Regions from separate parts of the Homo sapiens genome. Here region 2 is linked to region 1. Evidence: promoter capture Hi-C in 16 types of primary human blood cells and fetal thymus (Javierre and others, 2016). All regions are on one chromosome and are shown on one strand. The core of a region is centred on a gene start or on the middle of the fragment in contact, and the rest is flanking DNA. Distances in the headings are between cores, read along the strand shown. Region 1 holds the start of CLTCL1 (clathrin heavy chain like 1). Region 2 holds the start of PI4KA (phosphatidylinositol 4-kinase alpha).

Region 1 (4,072 bases), core at 793-3,292:
CAGGAAAGGGAGGCTATGACTGAACGAGGCTCCCTTATAGGGAAGAAGGATACCAGATCCAGAACATAGACAAGAAAGGACACCTACTTTTGAGGTAACAGGAAGGCAGGAAAGGGTGGCTGCAGACAAACATCTAAGTCTGCAGCCATATAGGTGAGAAACATCCCAGTTATGGCTTCAGTTTTCTCCAAGTCATCTGCTGGTTGCAAGGCAGGAGTGGCAGGATCAGGGATTTAAGGAACAGGCTGAAGTCTCGAAATGTCTGTAGTGAAGGCAGTGTGTGCTGACTCAGTGTTTGCTCTACAGAATGCACAGCAGCCTCAAAGACCCAGTCAGTGTTAGAGACCACAAACCAGACTTGCATTCACGTGGCTGCCCACCACAAGCCACAAGCATTTTCCAGATAATGGAACATATCAACTCTGATGGACATTACAAATCCTGATGGACATTAGAAACTCTGATGGACACCTAAAATATCTTGTTGCTTTCTTGCCCTTTGAAAAGAACATATTTAGATAGTGGTTAAGCACAGGCATTGGAATCAGACCTGGGTTAGAACTCAAGCTTTGTCACTTACTAGCCATGTAACTTTTGCTGAAGGAATTAGAATATTAACCTCAGTGACCCATGGTAGAAAACAGGATATCACTATCTGCCTCAGTTATCATGAGGATTAAATTAAACCAGATTTATAAAATACAGTAGTCTAGTGAGTGGCAAGAGAAACGGCTCAGTAAATGATAACTACATCATCATCATTATTATGAGCAGCAGCAGTATTTTGCTACCTCAACATGACTGGTGCTGGCTTAGCTTAGTGGCAGAATGAAGCCCGGACAGATGTCAGGGCACTCCCACCTCCATACAACTTCCACTGTGTCACTAACCAAGTGACCCTGGCAGGATCCCCTGGATATCAAGTTTCCAGTCTGCAGAATGAGGGGACTGGACTGCACTACACAGTTCCCAAGGCTTTTCCCGTCTGCATCTAGGGCTAACAGTGCTCTGCACTGTGAAAATAGGAACTTTCAAGCAAGCACGTTCCTCGATGTACTACTTTGTGGTCAAAAAGACTTGAGTCTGAATCCTGTTCTTATTGAATGAAGATGAGTTCTTTAACACTTTTGAGACTCGGTTTCCTCATCTAGAAAAGAGTAAGCGAATCGCAACGAATGGTAGTGTGATGATTTAACACAGAGCACTCAGGGAGGAGCCGCTGGCTATCCCTCCTCTGCCGCACCTCCCAGGGTAAACGTGGGGACCAGCACCGCTCCCGGGCAGACCCGCGAGCGGCCCGCACGACGCCCGACCTGAGCCTTTGCTCAAAGCAGGGGGCCAGTCCTTATGTTTCTGAACACAAACAAATGGAGAACAAACTGGGACCTTATTAAAAAGGCAGGCTTTGGGGGTGTTACTGCATTGAAAAGCCCTATTTAGGCTTGGCCCTGAGAAATTTTTCTCTTGGGTCACGCATGTTCACGGTCCTCCCAGGCGAAGCCGCCCTGGGGACGAAAACCGATCACAGAGGCAAACTCAGGGGCGAATAAGGACCGCAGGACGCCAAGGAGGGGCGTGGAGCTGTGGGATCCGCGCGGCCCTTGGGTTGCCCTGCCTGCAGCGGGAATTTGTGTGCCTCCTCGCGGGCACTGAGCGGGGCGTCCCAGGGGGCGTTGGCTTCCACCCCCACCATTCCCCAGCCGGCCCCGCCGGTAACGGGCTTCGGCGACGGCACCCAAGCGGGTCCTCAGGAGCGGCCGCCGCGCCCGGGACGCCGCAGCCCCAGCCCAGGTGGGAGGTCGGAAATCGGCGCGGCCAGCTGGGCAGCGGCTCAGCGGGGCTGGGGGCGCGGGGTCAAGCCTGGCAGTCCGGCCCGGCGGAGGCGCGGCTGACAGGGCAGCCCCCCAGCCCGCCGGGCCTCACCTGGAAGTGCTCCTGAAAGCGAACAGGGAGGATCTGCGCCATGGCTGGTGCGGGACCTCGGCGGCGGCGGCGGCAGCGGCAGGAATGAACGCCGACCCCTCGCGCGGGCTGACCGGTGGCGACGGCGCAGGCGCAGTGCCCCGAGCTCCCGGTCCTGGCCCCCGCCCTCCTCCCTGACCGCGCCCCGGCCCGCACCCCCTTTCCCCGCCCCTTCCCCCGCCCCTGCCCCGCCCCTGCCCCGCCTCTGCCCCGCCCCTGCCCCCGCCCCTGCCCCCGCCCCTGCCCCCGCCTCTGCCCCGTCCCGCCTGCGCGGATCCCTCCGCCCGCTCCGAGGGTCCGCGGAAAGTAGTCCCGCGCGCCCTCTGCCCTGACGCGGTGTGTGCCAGCTACCCGAGTGAAAGGTTTTCGGGGGATTAATCCTGATGGGGTCTGCGGCGGCCCTTGCCCAGCGCCTTCCACATGTGGAGCGGGCCAGTGGTGCTAGTTCTGCCGCCAACTCTGGACGGTTGAGTTCAGGGCCACTTTTTACTCAGGCACGGATGTGACAGAAAGATGGAAAAGGGTCTTGGAAGAACCACATGTGCCGTATAACGAACGACCTTTTGGTCTGAGGAGGACCGTGTATATGACGGTGGTCCCATAACATGATAACGGAGCTGGAAACTTCCTGTCCTCTGGTGAGGGCTTAGCTAAGGACATTTCCTCTCCTGTATTTGGAGATACACGTACAGGTATGTCATTACCGTGCCAGGGGAATAACGCACCTCACACGCGGTGCGGGTTTGCGGCCTAGCAGCAGCGGACCGCATCAGCTGCCTAGTTGTGTAGTGGCTGTGCCATCTGAGTTTGTGTAAGTTACCTTGTGATGATCCCACAACCGAGACGCATGTCTCAGAATGCATGGATGCATGGGACGCGTGACTGTACGTGTTACAGACGTGTTTCGGCGTGAGGCTCGGCCCCTGCTCCTTTAGGAAACACCTTTCCTGGCTCATGCGGTTTCTAGAGAACACTGTGTCGGAATATCAATGTAGAGAGTCAGCGAAGGTCATCTAGCAGCAGATGACCAGCCCCAGGCCAGTGAGGATCACCCAGAGTGCCCGTGGCTGCACGACAGTAGTAGCAGGTGGAAGCTGGAGCCCACACCTGGTTTGCCCAGCAGCCAGTTGTTTTTCCGAGGCACCGTTGGCTGATGTTTTGCATACAGATGATTCAGCTGCATAAAAGATGTCTGTCAGGAAAGGGAAGCCCTTGGCATTCAGCACAGGCACTCCCTACGGGGTAATCGATAGCCGTCTCTGCTGCTTCCCATGTTGCTCACTGGTAATTTTAAGAAATGAACGGCCCACCTTGAATAAGACAAGGATGGTGCAATTATTTGCGCAATGGCTTGACCATCTAGTAGCCAAAAATATGTTAAGGAATAGAACAGACTGTTCACTTTCAAATTAAATCTCTTTTCCAGTATTAGCCAAGACCTCTGCAGCCCGCCCTTTCTAAAATCCATGTGGCCTCATCCGCTAAATATAGAGCTGGGTTTTGCTGTGGTTAGTACTACATTTCCCAAATCTCTTTATTTTGGCAATGATGCCTGTGACTCCAAGTACCCTTTACCCCAAACATTATATAAATTTTTTAGTAATTAATACCATCACTCCCTAAATCACCTTCCCCAGGGCTTTTTGGGGATTAAAACTAAAATTTTATACCCTAAAAGAAAGAATTTAAGAAAATCATAGTTAAGCAAAGTGACAGGATTGTTAATACGTCGGGACCTCAAGTGGGGATTAAGTTTCAACATTAATTTTAGAGGAGACACAAATCTTTCTGTCTCTTCAAACCATAGAAGAGACAGAAAGCACAACAGTTATTTGAATAGACAGAAGTGAATATAAGTGATAGTTGTAGTTAACAGGAAATAAAGTTGTTAATATACTTGTAAAAAAATTAAATGTTCTGACTTGAAAGGGACTTTAATATTCTCACCACTTGTAGGTAACTTGCTAAGTAACCCTAAAAAAACCTTTCAATTCTTTTTTTTTTTTTTTTTTTTTTGAGACAAGAGTCTCGCTCTGTCGCCCAGGCTGGTGTGCAGTGGCACGATCTCTGCTCACTGCAACCTCTGCCTCTCAGGTTCCAGCCATTCTCC
Region 2 (3,906 bases), core at 896-3,395, 1.6 Mb after region 1:
CAAGTGATCTGCCTGTCTCAGCCTCCCAAAGTGCTGGGATTACAGGCATGAGCCACCGTGCCCCATCATAAAATATAATCTTGACAACTGAAGCAGTTATTACTACAAAGCTAAGAATGTTGCAATTACAGAATGTTCTCGTGACTAGTGAACATGGCTGAAGAAGCAAATTGAGCTCAAGGTGCCCTTTTCTGAGTTACTGAGTGGAAAGGGTGCTACCACTGCTGGAGCTGCAGGACCAGCTTCTTAAAGATCATCCAATTCACTGCATTCTCTTCTCTCTCCTCCCAGAATCCAGCAATCAGTCATAAGATATATTTGTTGGCTCTCCTGCTAAGAAGCGAATGTGCTGACTAGCTAGCATGAGTTTGATTCAATAAAACAGCACTACACTCCATTAGTCAGACTATCTAATGATAACAGTGCTCATACATTAGGTACCCACGTGCCTTTTTGTTGCTCTTCACAATACTCCTATGAAGTACTACCTTGTATTTGACAGAAGATAGCAAAGTATCAGAGAAGGGAACTGACCTGTCTAGAGTCACACTAGTGAAAGCAAGTGATACAGGATTTAAATTCAGAGGTTCCATTTTCCAAACTCATGTCCTTTCCATTGCATTGTACTCCCTCTTTAGCTAGAAGTCAGGTTAGCACCAATCTGCCGGGACCTTCTCACCCCGAAGGTGCATGATAAAATCAAATATGAGAACCGACAAGGCCAAGGACCAGGTCACTCTGCCAAAAGTGCCTAAAACAGCCTTTCAGCTTCATCCATCAGCAGACAGCCACAAAACCACTCCCAACTGCAGCAGGCTGGTCTCCGGTCACCACTGTCTTATCTTGTCGGAAAACATCCTCTCTCCATGTGCCAAAAAGTTGAGTGGGAAAATAATTCCATCCTTTCAGAGCTAAACACTGTGCTGAGTCTCATCGCACACGGGTGGGCAAAGAAAGTTGACATTTACTGCTCACCCACTCTGTGCCTTGACCTGTGCAAGATGCTTTATGCTAGAACTCATTTAATTCTCAAGAACAACCTCATTTTACAGATAAGGATACAGAGGCTCTAAGAGTTAAATTTACCCAAGAGGACATGGTAAGTAAGTGCCAGTGCAGGGAACAAATTCAGGTCCCACTCTAAAATCTGTCTCTTTCCAGATCTCAAGGCACACCACTGAGTTGCCTTTCACCTTTCTCCCAAGATGAGGATTGCTCTGGCATGACTTCACCTTTCTCTTCTGAAGCAATTCCAAGTTCACTTCTCTGCCCACTGACAGTTCACTCTCCTTTCCCTGCCACTGTCCCTTCTGCAAACGCACAATCTTTTACCCAACCTAACGCCCCCAGCCTCGTAGAATAACACTGCGCAGTTGGTTTACAGTCACAAAGCACTTTCAAGACAGTGTTTCGTCTCCTGGTCACCACAGTCCGGTGAAGCCGGCAAAGCAGATAAAAGCATCCCCATTTTACAAGAAAGCCATCTTCCCAAGGTCGCGGAATAAAAAGCAGGTGAAATCGGAAGCAGAACCCCAGGTCTTGACCCCTGGTCCTCGGCTCATCCCACTGCTCCGCACAGCCGCCCACGATCCAGCCTCCACCTCCGCGATGTCACAAGATGCTCCCTGGGCCAGCAGCTCACATCCCCCACCCCCATCCCACAACCACCCACCTGCAGCGGCCCTGCAGGCCCCGCCGACCCTTCCCCCACGGTCCCTCTCTCTTCACCAGCCCCTCCCACTAGGGCCTCCTTCCCCCGCTAGATCCCTCCGCTCAGGCGCCCCCTCCCGCACAGGCTGCCGGCGAGCCCAGCCTCGGCCTCCCACAGACCCTCGTCCCGCCTCCACGCTTCGTCACCCCAGCCCCTCCTCCTGTCAGCCCGCGGCCCAGCCCGCCGACGTTACCTTCTCCAAGGATGCTGGTCTCTGCACCGCCAGGGAGCGGGCCAGTGACAGGACCGTGTTGAAATAGAAGCCCCGCGAGGCGCTGGAGCCGGAGCCGGAGCAGCCGCCGCCGCCTCCGCCTCCGCCTCCGCCTCCCCGGGCCGGGGCCGCCGCCATCACCTCACGAGCCGCGGCGCTGCCCGCCGGCTCCCCGCTCCTGGCCCGCGAGCGCCCGACCTCAGGGCGCAGGCGTAGGTGCATCCGGCTTTCCCGCCACGTGACCTCTCAGTTGCTGACACTAGATAGGGCGTGGCTGCGGGGCGGGCCCACCGCTGCAGGGGAGAGAGGGGATGGACAGTAGGCTGCGGTTGCGCGCGCCGGATGTGGGCCCCCCCCAGCCGACCTGCGCGATGGTCGGCTCCGAGGGCGGGGCCACCTGCGCGCGACGCGCGGAAGGAGTTCGCGCGACGACCGCGGGGTCGGCGGGCGGGGCGAGGCCCTGGACGGCGGCGGCAGTGGGGCTCCTCCTTCTGTTTCCCAGACCGAGAGCCGCGCCGGCACCATGTCAGCTTACCCTAAAAGCTACAATCCGTTCGACGACGACGGGGAGGACGAAGGCGCCCGGCCGGCCCCTTGGAGGGACGCCCGAGACCTCCCCGACGGGCCCGACGCGCCCGCGGACAGGCAGCAGTACTTGCGGCAGGAGGTCCTCCGCAGGGCTGAGGCCACGGCCGCCAGCACCAGCAGGTCCCTGGCCCTCATGTACGAGTCCGAGAAGGTTGGGGTCGCCTCTTCCGAGGTGAGCCTGGGGCAGGGCTGGTGTGGACTCGCCGGTCTCTGTGCTGTCAAACGGAGACGAGAAATGTTTTGCTCACAATCTTTTGAGAATTCTCAAGTTGCCTAGCATAGATTCTTGCACCTTAGTGACTCGATGGTGGTAACAATCTGTTAACTATGTAAAGGTATGTGCATCTGGAGTACTTGAAGAGGGCAGTTTACCCCAGAAATCTTCCTTAGCTATTAGTCTGCTTCGTTGATTTTTTTTTTCTTACGCCTAGCTCACGGGGAAACGCCAGATTATTTTCTGTCCAGGTGAGTAAAAATTCTGAACAGCAGGTCCTAGGTTTGGGAAATGGAGAGTCCGTTTCTTCGACATTATTTCCTGTGCAAAATCTGGCACAGGGTTTTGGCCATTCCTTCCGGAGTGAGCCAGAAAGAGAGGACTATGTGCCTGCGAGTGTCAGGTGATACCCTGAAGCATCAGGGCAGGTGGTCCACGAGTTCTTCCCGCATCATTGACATCTCCACCTAACCAACCAATAGAGGTATTGAAGTCCCTTCAGCCCAGACAGCTGCCTAGTTGACCAAAGCCTGGGTTTGATTGAGTCCAGGGTCTTACCTTTACTTCCCAAATCCTAGACAAATAGTGTGCGGGTTAAGAGTTTGTTGCTCCAACTCATCTTCATCAGTTCTTCCCATCCTTAGATTTCAGAGAGTAGTACCTTCAATAACAATTATTCTGGCCGAGCGCAGTGACTCACGCCTGTAATCCCAGCACTTTGGGAGGCCTAGGCGTCGGATCGCCTGAGCTCAGGAGTTCGAGACCCGCCTGGGCAACATGGTGAAACCCTGTCTCCACTAAAATTAAAAAAAAAAAAAAACTAGCCGGGTGTGGCGGTGCGCCTGTAGTCGCAGCTACTCAGGAGGCTGAGGTAGGAGAATCGCTTGTACCCGGGAGGCAGAGGTTGCAGTTAGCTGAGATCGTGCTGCTGCACTCCAGCATGGGCAACAGACCGAGATCCTGGAGGGTCTTTTTCTTTTTCTTTTTTTTTTTTTTTTGAGATGGAATCTCGCTCTGTCGCCCTTGCTTGGGTACAGTGGCATGATCTGGGCTCACTGCAACTTCCGCCTCCGGGATTCAGACGATTCTCCTGCCTCAGCCTCCCGAGTAGCTGGGACTACAGGTGCGCCGCCACACCCGGCTAATTTTTTTTGTATTTGTAGTGGAGACAGGGTTTTGCCC

The links. Contacts are between HindIII fragments. The CHiCAGO score rates a contact against its expected background, and 5 or more counts as called.
Region 2: the fragment with the promoter of PI4KA here is called in contact with the fragment with the promoter of CLTCL1 in region 1 in 5 of 17 cell types (activated CD4 T cells, total CD4 T cells, fetal thymus and 2 more); the score reaches 7.9 in activated CD4 T cells.

Annotation. Positions count from the first base shown.
Region 1 is chr22:19,289,677-19,293,748 of GRCh38, forward strand. CLTCL1 (clathrin heavy chain like 1) reads right to left here and starts at 2,043. Exons shown (of 33, transcript NM_007098.4): 1 at 1,924-2,043. The coding sequence starts at 1,965. LOC105372859 (a long non-coding RNA gene) reads left to right here and starts at 2,271. Exons shown (of 6, transcript XR_938002.3): 1 at 2,271-2,654. RefSeq lists an enhancer at 1,232-1,745 and silencers at 1,856-2,040, 1,922-2,161. The HindIII fragment of the contact is 6,040 bases long and covers 566-4,072 here.
Region 2 is chr22:20,856,666-20,860,571 of GRCh38, forward strand. PI4KA (phosphatidylinositol 4-kinase alpha) reads right to left here and starts at 2,146. Exons shown (of 55, transcript NM_058004.4): 1 at 1,905-2,146. The coding sequence starts at 2,060. It overlaps SNAP29 (synaptosome associated protein 29), which reads left to right and starts at 2,342. Exons shown (of 5, transcript NM_004782.4): 1 at 2,342-2,682. The coding sequence starts at 2,446. RefSeq lists silencers at 1,755-1,804, 1,825-2,584 and an enhancer at 2,264-3,073. The HindIII fragment of the contact is 10,120 bases long and covers 1-3,906 here.